Regions from separate parts of the Homo sapiens genome. Here region 2 is linked to region 1. The links are contacts of gene promoters, found by promoter capture Hi-C in blood cells and fetal thymus (Javierre and others, 2016). All regions are on one chromosome and are shown on one strand. The core of a region is centred on a gene start or on the middle of the fragment in contact, and the rest is flanking DNA. Distances in the headings are between cores, read along the strand shown.

The links. The method cuts DNA at HindIII sites, captures the fragments that hold promoters and counts their contacts. A CHiCAGO score of 5 or more calls a contact.
Region 2: a contact is called between a fragment that was not itself captured here and the fragment with the promoter of POMK in region 1, in 6 of 17 cell types (megakaryocytes, erythroblasts, endothelial precursors and 3 more). The highest score is 9.3, in megakaryocytes.

Annotation. Positions count from the first base shown.
Region 1 is chr8:43,090,012-43,095,603 of GRCh38, forward strand. POMK (protein O-mannose kinase) reads left to right here and starts at 3,504. Exons shown (of 5, transcript NM_032237.5): 1 at 3,504-3,552. RefSeq lists enhancers at 944-1,133, 2,468-3,374, 3,375-4,280 and a silencer at 3,532-3,741. The HindIII fragment of the contact is 4,326 bases long and covers 1,462-5,592 here.
Region 2 is chr8:43,277,590-43,283,181 of GRCh38, forward strand. No RefSeq gene overlaps it. Among named protein-coding and RNA genes, the nearest start is that of POTEA, 12 kb to the right of the region's middle. The HindIII fragment of the contact is 1,023 bases long and covers 1,692-2,714 here.

The sequences.
Region 1 (5,592 bases), core at 2,254-4,753:
CATTGAATCTATCCAGTGAGTTTTAAAATTTGATTATTGTACTTTTCTATTTTAAATGTTTATTTGGTTCCTCTTACTTTCTCCAAGTTTTTTACTCATACTTTCTTTTTTAAAATTATTATTTTTTATTTGTTTGAGACAGAGTCTCGCTCGGTGGCCCAGGCTGGAGTACAATGGCACGATCTCGGCTCACTGCAACCTCCACCTCCCAGGTACAAGCGATTCTCCTGCCTCAGCCTCCTGAGTGCACCTGCCACCATGTCCGGCTAATTTTTGTATTTTTAATAGAGACAGGGTTTCACCATGTTAGCCAGGCTGGTCTCGAACTCCTGATCTCAAGTGATTCGCCTGCCTCAGCCTCTCAAAGTCTTGGGATTACAGGCGCGAGCCACTGTGCCCAGCCCCATACTTTCTATTTTAACTTTTGTTTCAAGAATGTTTATAATTTTTTGAGCATTTTCATAACTAATGTCTTTTTCAGATAATCCTAACAGTCATTTTATAGTTGGTGACTCTTGATTATCTTTTCCCATGCAAGTTGAGATTTTTGTGATGGTTCATATGCCTAGCAATTTTGTATCCTGAGCATTTTGAATATTATGAGGCTCTAATTCTTGTTTAAATCCTATGGAGAATGTTGGCATTTTAATTTTTTTTTTTTGAGAAGGAGTCTTGCTCTGTCACTCAGGCTAGAGTGCAGTGCTGTGATCTGGGCTCACTGAAACCTCTGCCTCCTGGGTTCAAGTGATTCTTGTGCCTCAACCTTCCGGGCAGTTGGGATTACAGGCATCCGCCACCATGCCCGGCTATTTTTTTTTTTTTTTTTTTTTTAAGTAGAGACCGGGTTCCACCATGTTTACCAGGCTGGTCTCAAACTCCTAACCTCAGGTGATCTGCCCTCCCTAAGTGCTGGGATTACAGGTGTGAGCTACCGCGCCTGGCCAACAGTTTAATTTAAGCAAGCACATGAACTAGTTAGGGACAGCCTGCAGGTTCCGATCTTCTTCTGGGGTTCATGTTCCAAAGTGAGTTCTGTGTTCATACCCTCTGTGGGGCTATTTGGATCTGTCTCGTGGCTGCATCCTCCCGTAGTTTGGTACCTGAACAAAAATCTGTTCATGAGCACAGTTCTCTGAGTGTTTGGTGTGCTCGTTAAGTCGATGATACGCAGGTCAGCGATGAGCCCAAGAGTTCAAAAACAACTCTGTGAGGTTGCTTGCCAGATGCTCTCACCTTCCGCTATCTTCTCAGTGTTTTTAGGTTCCCTCAGGTTTCAGTGCGCTGGTCTGAAACTTCCCACTTTCAGTTTGGCTTGGGGGAGCTGCCCACTTCCACAATTGTGCCACAGCAGTGGGAAACAGTTAAAAACAACAAAACACCAAGTTTGTGTCTGTCCTCTTGGAGCTGCAGTGCTACTGAATGGAAAGGACTATCTCTTTCCCTCAGACTTTTGGCTGCTGAAGCTTTTTGCTCTGGCCTTGGGCTTGACTGGGGGCTGGAGTGCAAAGAAAAGAAGAAAATAGAAAGAACAGGGAATTTTCTTCACTCCCTCTGAGGGTTAGGAGTTTCCTTTTCTGCTCCACGAGCCAGAATCAGAGGGTTTCTCCCGAGTCTCTGTGTGTGCCCCCGACACTCAGTTCCAGGCTTTGGACTACCTTCAGCTTGAAGATGGGTGACACAACCAGTTTGATGGTGCGTCAAATTCTGCTGTTCTTTTTATTTTTAATTTTTTGTTTGAATTTAATTCCTCTAATTTTTCATCAGTGTTAAAATTTCACCTTTTCCCAGCACCCCCAAAAAGCCTGTGGGCACAAAATGGTGGCCACGTGGCAAAGAACTCAGCAAGGAGAGCTGCTGGTTGGTTTCTATCTTTGTTTGTTTGAGACGGAGCTTTGCTCTTTTGCCCAGGCTAGAGTGAAGTTGTTGGGGAAACCAGCCCCACACCACCCGGCGGGTACCCCGAGTCCAGCGAAGACAAAGGAATTAGAATAAGAGTTTAAAAGGCGGGTCCGGGGGACCGGAGCGTTGGAGGCTTGCTCACGGCCCCGAGCTCTCGGCCTCCACCCAATTTATTGGTGTATATTCACACTGTTGTGCAACCATCACCCCCATCCATCTCCAGGACTTTACCATCTTCTCACACTGAAACTGTGCACCCGTTAGTATTTTTCATGGCTATGTGGATGTAATATAATTTCTTTCAGAAACCCCTATTGTTATACATTCAGGTTTCTTTTTTTCTCTATTATAAATATCTTTTATCAGCAATGCTTCAGCAAGATCTCTTGTGCATACATCTTGCAGACATATTATTTCTTTTTCTTTTTTTTTTTTTTTTTTTTTGAGACGGAGTCTCGCTCTGTCACCCAGGCTGGAGTACAGTGGCGCGATCTCGGCTCACTGCAAGCTCCGCCTCCCGGGTTCACGCCATTCTCACGCCCGCCACCATGCCCGGCTAATTTTTTGTATTTTTAGTAGAGACGGGGTTTCACCGTGTTATCCAGGATGGTCTCGGTCTCCTGACCTCGTGATCCGCCCACCTCGGCCTCCCAAAGTCCTGGGATTACAGGCATGAGCCACGGCGCCCGGCCACAGACGTTATTTCTGAAGGATAAATTCCTAGAAATGGATTTGCTAGGGCACGTAGGAGGAATTCCAATTTACACTCACTTGTATGTGTGAGGAAACTTTCAGACTCTACTGTAACGACAGGAGGTATTACCGCTGTTTGTCCATGTGATAGGCAAACGTTTCTGTTAATTTTAATACTGTTTGGATAGCTAGTACCGGCTCAGTTTTTTTAACCCACACCATGTTACTGTCTTGATTCTGGACTTTCGCAGTGTGTCAGTGTAGAAGCAGCTAACGCTTCCGATGTACACAACCTAGACGTTCCATGACCCAGCTGACTTCGATGCTGCAAGCCTCCCTTTCGGTTTCCCGGAGCAAGCGCCCGAGTGCGTGTTGGGCTCCCGGCAGGGCTCCTGGCCGGCCCTCGACGGACTTCCCCGCCTTTGCCCAGTCCTGCCCCTCCGCGGAGGCTTGCCAAGGTCTTGTCTGCTGCGCTTGATGTGTGCAGCTCAGCTTTACTGCGTCTAGGCTAAGCCCCACAGTTTCTTTTACAGAGCGATTGTCCAACTTCAGGCATCTGGGTCCCCGAGTGGCGGGTCTGGGCCGGAGCTGGGAATCAGCCTTTCCAGCAAGGTCCCTGCAGATGCCGCGGGTCTGAGGACTACGCTTTGGAAGGCCTCGCAGTGCGTCTAGATCTGACAGCTGCTCTGCATGAGCCTGGCTCCAGGCTGAAGCAATAGTCGGTCAACACAAAATCGTTCTCCCAAGTTAGGGAAGCAGAAGCCAGACAGGGAGACTGGGTAGGTGCGCGCTGGTACCGCCGCGGCGTTCGCTCCGGCTTCAGTGCACGGCCGGAGGAGGACGCCAGGGGGCAGCAGCGCCACGCTCACCCGCCCAGGACGCGCTTCCGAACGCGCAAGCGCAGTAGGCCCAGTGCGTGCTGGCCCGGGGTGGCAGGAGCCGCAGAGGCTTGGGCTGCAGGTAGGTGCTGCGGCGAGGGGTGAGAGGGCGAAGGGGCGAGGGGGCGTGCAGCTGGGTTTCCCGGGGGACCCTGTACGTGGCCTGGGCCGCACCCCCCGCAGCCCCGGCCGCCTGCCCGCGGCCTGTCCGGAGGCTCCCTAGGAGGCTGCGCTGGGCCTGAGCGGCCGTGTCCACCGCGCCCAGCCCCTATCTCCGCGTCCACCCCTGCGCGGTAGCGGGACGTTAAAGAACCAGAGAAGGGCCCGGCGAGGTGGCTCCAGCCTGTAATCCCAGCGCTTTGGGAGGCCGAGGCGGGAGGATCGCGTGAGCTCAGGCGAGAGCAGCCTGGGCAACATGGCGGAACTTCTGTCTCCGTAAAAAAGCACTTAGCCGGGCGCGGTGGCGCCGCCTATAGTCTTATCTACTCCGGAGGCTGAGGCGGGAGAATGCTTGAACCCGGCGGGGGCGGAGGTTTCAGTGAGCCGAAATCGCGCCACTGCACTTCAGCCTGGGGGCCAGAGTGAGAGGCTGTTTCTATTATTATTACTTTATCATTATTATTATTATTTGAGACGGAGTCTCGCTCTGTCGCCCAGGCTGGAGTGTAGTGGCGCGGTCTTGGCTCCTGGGATTACAGGCGTCCGCCACCACGCCCGGCTAATTTTTGTATTTTTAGTAGAAACGGGGTTTCCCCATGTTGGTCAGGCTGGTCTCGAACGCCTGACCTCAGGTGATCCGCCCGCCTCTGCCTCCCAAAGTGCTGGGATTACAGGCGTGAGCTACTGGGTCCGGCAGAGGCTGTCTCTGTTTAAAAAAACAAAAACCAAACCAAACCAAAACAAAACAAAAAACAAAAAAACCAGAAAGGACCGAGGACTCTGTCTCAGCTCTTTGCCTTTGGGTGTTTATTCTGCACGAGATCATTGTTGCCAGGAGGTGTTAAGTGTAATCATATTCTCTTTTTTTTAGAAAGCAAAATTTCGCTGTTTTGTTGCATAATCTTGTCTTTGCCACCCTTTGCCTTTGCTATAGAACCTTAAGGCTAAATAAGCGTTCAGAATATTTAAAATAATCCTCTTAATGTACCTTGTGCTTTATTGGCGCAATGGAATTCTACTCTAAACTGTATTGGATGACATTACTCTGTGTCTTCCCTAGTTGTAGAAAATATCTTGTAAGTCGGTAAAAACTAGTTTTGTCCCTTTGCTTTTCTTTTCTTTTTAAGCTGTAAATGTGGAGCAGTGGGTCCCAAGCCTTTCTCTATCAATAAGCCTTCCTATCAGTGTCAGAAATGCTTTGCATTTCAGTCGTGCCTGAATTTCTTCTGCCCAACCTGCCCCACCATCTTTATTCCTTAATGTGCAGGCTGTTTTCAGGACCAGTAAATTTCAGTGGTTTTTGCTTACTTCTGGACACGAAAGTTCCTTTAGCCACACAGCCTCATGCTATGCTCTGGGCGGCCTACTCCAGAATATGCCTGTGAAACAAAAAAGCAAATCGGGGTTGAGGTGGGCTGAAGTCTTCTTTAAGAAACCGGCAGTCCCAGGGTACCCCAGCCCAGCCCCTAGCTGACCACGCTGGGTTTGATTTAGTTCAACTCCCGAGCATTGCGGTATTTAGGGGAAGAATGGGCTTGAGGCCAGAAAACTTGGCTCTTCTGTGTATAGTTCAGTGACCTTAGATATATTACTTCACCTCTGACTCAGTTGTCTTATCTGTGAAATGGGAATAACAACAATTACATCCACTTCACAGAATTGGTGTGAAGTTGACAGTGTATAAAAGTCAAATGAATTTTGGGGTATTTTTTTTATTTGTTTTGTTTTGGTTTGGTTTGGTTTGTTTTTGCCGAGAGAGGATTCAGAAGTGAATGTGAGGACTTAGGGATATATAAAAGGTTTTTGGGGCATATGAAATTTGGATTCAGCAAGAAATGCATTAAAGGTTTTCTGAGTAATGCTGAGGGTCCAAGAGAGATTAGAAAATATGCATTTCTAGAGTCCCACAGAGTTTTGTAGCTGATGTTGGCAGCCTTTGAGTGGAAATGAAGAAGTGGACAGG
Region 2 (5,592 bases), core at 953-3,452, 190 kb after region 1:
AGAAAGAAGAGACAGCAACAGACAGAGTTTGAGAATTTGAATTTTCTATACACACAGATTAAATTTTGCAAATAATGTTTCTCTTCTTTTCTGTTGAAGTAAAAACACCCAAACTTTCCTGTATATATTTGTACAACTGAAATCCCCCCTGGACTGTCACCCTTGCCCTAACTAAAAAATCAGTTATATTCTAGAAAATGAGAAAGAAAATATAATGAAGATAAAAACATGTATTAAACATGGTTATCTGAACGGACTGAAGCACATAGTGACTATGTCTGTGCTCACTTTTAAATTTACTTTTATCTTTTTAAAATTTTTATTCGTTTTCCCCGGAATCTTGATGTTTTACATAGCCTCAAATTCCTTCTTGGCAAAGTTATACTTGCTAAATATTTAGTAGTTTCAGCAATTGTCTGAAAAGACACAATTATGCTGCTAAAAAAACAATGAAGAAAGAAGAGACAGAGCAAGAGACAGAGTTTGAGAATTTGAATTTTCTATACACATAGATTAAATTTTCCAAATAATGTTTCTCTTCTTCTTTTCTGTTGAAGTAAAAACACTCAAACTTTCCTGTATATATTTGTACAACTGAAATCCCCCCTAGACTGTCACCCTTGCCCTAACTAAAAAATCAGCTATATTCTAGAAAATGAGAAAGAAAATATAATGAAGATAAAAACATGTATTAAACAAAAATGCAGTGATAAAATCGTGAGTTTCAAAATACCCTGTGAGCTTTGTTTGTTAAGTCCAGGGAAAGAGTAACAAAGATAGGCATTAGGTGTGCAGGTCATTTACATGTGTTTATGTGGCCATGTCTACCATTTTCTCTTTAACTTTTCATAACGTGGAACTCATTTCTTTAGGTAGAAGTTATGAGTTAACTATCTTGGTAGTGTTTAAAGAACAAGCATTCTTTAAAAGTCCATTCTTTTTCTTCATTTTTGAATATGCATAGCATTACAGAAAAATTGGAAAGTAAACCAGAAAAATACCCATAATCTCACCATTCCAATACAATGCTGTCTGTGCTTTTTCAAAAAAAAGGGACCTCAATTTCTAAACTTAGAGAAAAATCTCTAGCTTTTGAATTTTTTTATATTCTGAATTTTTGATGAAGAGTTATGAATTTTTGATGAAGAAGTATTTGTTTACTGCCTCTAGCATTGTATTTTAAAAGAGACCGGTCAAAATTTGATTTTAAAACAAAGGATTAAGAACTCTTCCATTTGTGCTTATTTTACATCTATCAGGTGAGAGTAAAATCACTGATTTAAAGACCTCTGAGTTTTCACAACACAAGGAAAAATAAATAGACACCACCCTTACTGTTTTGTACATTCCACTGAAATATAAGTTCCTTGTGGACAGGGGTTTTCATCTGTTTTATTTGCTGCTGTATCCCAGTACCTGGCACCTAGTGCCACGTAGGAAGTACTCAAGTACTTGTTGACTGAGCTAATTAAAATAGTTTCACCATAGCAGAATTGCCTTTATTCTGTGGGGGCGACCCATGTAAGTTTATCTTTTATGTCAAAAATGCCATTTTAATGCATTTATGAACATCTTCAAATTGCATCATAGGTTTTGTTAATTTTTTTAACTAGAGTACTTCAGACATATTTTGCCTGCTGACTCAATGGTGTCATTATGAATATTACTATAATTTTTAGGTGGGCCAGTGAAGCTTGTGTTAATTACCATGAACTGTTGTTTTGATGACTTGGAATAGATTAGGATGAATGTTGTAAAGGTTTTTCTATTTCTGCTGGAATCTTCTGTCATTCTACTCATCATCATCTAGGTAATGGTCTAAGGCTGGCACCATTTCTCTTATCAAGTAACGCAAATGGACTTTTTGGCAGATAGTTGTTGTTTAACAACTTTTGTTTTTAGTTTCAGAGACTATGTTCTGGAATGTTGAGATTTCTTCATACATGACCTCTAGAGAAATAGGCATATTATAAAATGAGTTACACTGTGTAACTGAGGGCATGTGCTGATGGCAAAATTATTATCTTCAAGAATTTTTTTTTTAGTGTTCTGCATTTGCCCACACTGTTAGAAATGGAATGTTAGAGAATATTTATTATTTTGTTGCTATCAAAGCAAAATTTGCAGAAACTTGAATTTATTGTAATTACTGTATTAACTCTGAAATGCATGGCTATGTTTTAAGGGAGGTTTTTGCCTTCCATATTGTTCTCGTTCTACTTTTTCTTTTACTCAGAAGGACTTAATCTCTAAACATTAGAAAATGTTTTATACAGAGACAGGTCTCACTGACTACAATTAGAATTATAAGAATCTCTTCATTTGTATTAGTTGATAAAAGTATTTTTTCCTGTTTTTAGATAACAGTCCTCCAAAATTTATATTACTATTATCAATTCACTTCTTAAGATAAGCACAATGAAGTAGTGCCTCTGGGTGTTAGGATTATGTAGTTTTAACATTTACATTGATTATCTGTATTTTCTACTAAAAAAAAAAGCCTATACGATTTAATCAATATGTTACCAATAGATAACAAAAGTATAGAATACTGTTTCTGCTCCTTTAATAGCGAGACTTTACTCTAATTTCATGGTGGTTCTAAGGTAGTAGTAAGATGCAAAAAAGAGGTGCAGATGTGACAAGAAAAGTGAGCAAAAAGTAATAATGAACCCACTTAAGAAATTACATGTCTGTATAAGTATTAAAGATAAAGCTTAGGCAGGGCGTGGTGGCTCAGGCCTGTAATCCCAGCACTTTGGGAGGCCAAGGAGAGTGGATCACTCGAGGTCAGGAGTTCAAGACCAGCCTGGCGCCAACATGGTGAAACCCCGTGTTGAATAAAAATACAAAAATTAGCCAGGAATGGTGGGGCGCGCCTGTAATCCCAGCTACTTGGGAGGCTGAGGCAGGAGAATCACTTGAACCCGGGAGGTGGAGGTTGCAGTGAGCCGAGAGCTCCCCATTGCACTCCAGCCTGGGCGACAAGAGGGAAACTATGTCTCAAAATAAATAAATACATAAATAAGAAGAAATAAAAAGGTTAAGGATCTGACACAGAAATGCACACATTTTCTTCTCAACTATCAAAAGCAGGAGGAAAATTTTTAAACTTCCCAGAGATGAGTTTTCTAAGTTTTATTTTCCAAACTTCACTCTTATTAACCTTTAAAACAACACTGGTAGATCATTTCTGAAGTGAAGTTTTAAAATATTCCCTTCACTGTCTGAAAGCAAAATATAACCCTTAGTTTTATCAATTTGTAATTTTTAGTTAAAGAAACAACTTGATAATGGGGACTAAGGGAAATAAAGTTTCTCTGCGGGAGTCCCTGCTGAATGCCGCCCTGAGCTAGCGGGCGACGCTGCGCTTCCCCGCTGGAGGGCGCCATCATCCCATCCACAGAGAGCTCAGCAGGCCACGTGCCGCGGCCTGCTGCGAACCCGCAGGGACTGCTCCCTGGCTGGCGGCACCCTTATTGTTCAATAAAGACCTGGTTCAGAGACAAAGGTGGCCCTGTCAGTAGCTCTGAATAGCCCCAAGCTAGTTGCTGATCCTAACAGGCCCAATTAACTGCTACTCATTTAGCAAAGCGGCCCGGGACCCATCCCGCTTCCCGCTCCACCTTCTGAAACTCTCCCTGCCTGGGTACCTTGGCTATGGGCTTTGCAGTCTCCCTTTAGCGGATCAAAGGTGTGTGGGAAAGAATGACGGCTGGATCCGCCTCCACAGGTCCTTACACAGACGCACACATCACAGCCAGACCCAAAGCACTCATGGTGGTGAGCGAGAGCCCGAGGTGGAATTCCAGGGCCGGTCTCAGAACAACGCCTTGATTGCCGTGATTCGAAGAGCTATCTCAAAACATTTCGCTTCAGTGAAGTGCCTGAGAAGAAACACTCGTCACAACTCACTCTGCTGCTGACACTGGATGTACTCACCTTAGGTCCTCCCACTGCCAGGCTGCCTGGCCTCGGGAACACGCTGACACACACAAGAATACACACTGGAGCTGGCTTCCTTCCTCCTCACAACTAAGTATATTCCTGTTCTAGAAGTCCCCCAGGATCATGTTAGACAATGTGGGAAACAGACGGGCAGAAACAGAAAGGGAAGAAAGAGAACCCAATGTCCCCATGCAACAATTAGACTTTGGTGATGGAATTTTCTCATATTATAGAAGGTGCCTTGTCAACATCATGGGTAGTGACAATATAATATTCTATACTGTTCTCATTCATTTCCCATTCTCTAATACCTGTGGCCACTTGGTTTTTTAATTTTTTGTCATTATGAGCATTATTGTACATAAAAATTTCCCCATATTTTTGGGTAATTTACTTATTTTTCCTTTTTTTTGTTTTTTTTTTTTTTGGAGACGGTGTTTTGCTCTTGTTGCCCAAGCTGTATGTAGTGCAGTAGTGCGATCTCAGCTCACTGCAACTTCTGCCTCCCGGGTTCAAGCGATTCTTCTGCCTCAGCCTCCCAAGTAGCTGGGATTACATGCATGCACCACCACGCCCTGCTAACTGTATAGTTTTAGTAGAGACGGGGTTTCTCCATGTTGGTCAGGCTGGTCTCGAACTCCTGACCTCAGGTGATCCACCTGCCTCAGTCTCCCAAAGGGCTGGGATGACAGGCATGAGCCATTTTTGGGTAATTTTCTTAGAATTTATTTTGAAAGCAAAATTAAGTCAAATTTCAGCCTAATCAAAACTAGGTAAAAAGATGCTAGGTCAAGGGATATTGATACATGTTGCTAAATTGTTTTCCAACAGAATTGGAACATCTTTTTTTTCTGCCCAGCAATCATTGACACCAGTTTATCAGATATCCACCAGCAATGTGTTATCCTTTTTTGGAAATATTTATACAATTTTATGTTAGACTATTACTGTAATTAAACTTTCCCACGTGCTTGTTAACAGTATGTGGAAATTTTCCATGTGTTTCATCAACTTGCCGTGTCCATAACAATTTTTCTAATTGATTGCCTGATTGCTTTATATAGCATAAATATTTCCTGTTGTTTCATTCAATTTTGATTTTTTGTAGATACATCTATTTTTTCATTTTTAGGTAGTTAAATATATCAGTTTTTTAATTTATTCTATTTATTAACCTTGGTTATTTGTTATTTTTATGTATTTTACTTTTCAAATTTATTTGGAATCCAGCTTCTGAAGGTACAAATTATTTTCTGTATACCAAAGCAATGAACATTTCATGTGTCATTTTAGTAAAATGTTTTATTTCCTTTTGGATATATACTACGAATAGGATTGCTATATCAGATGGTAGTTCTGTATCAAGTTCTTTGAGAAATCTCCAAACTGTTTTCCACAGTGGCTGAACTACTTTGCATTCCCACCAACAGTGTATAAGTGTTCCCTTTTCTCCCCAGCCTCACCAGCGTCTATTGTTTCTTGGCTTTTGCATAGTAGCCATTCTGACTAGTGTGAGATGGTATTTCATTGTAGTTTTGATTTGCATTTCTTTGATCAGTGATGTTGAGCATTTTTTCATGTGTTTGTTGGCCGCTTGTATGTCATCTTTTGAAAAGTGCCTGTTTCTGTCTTTTGTCCACTTTT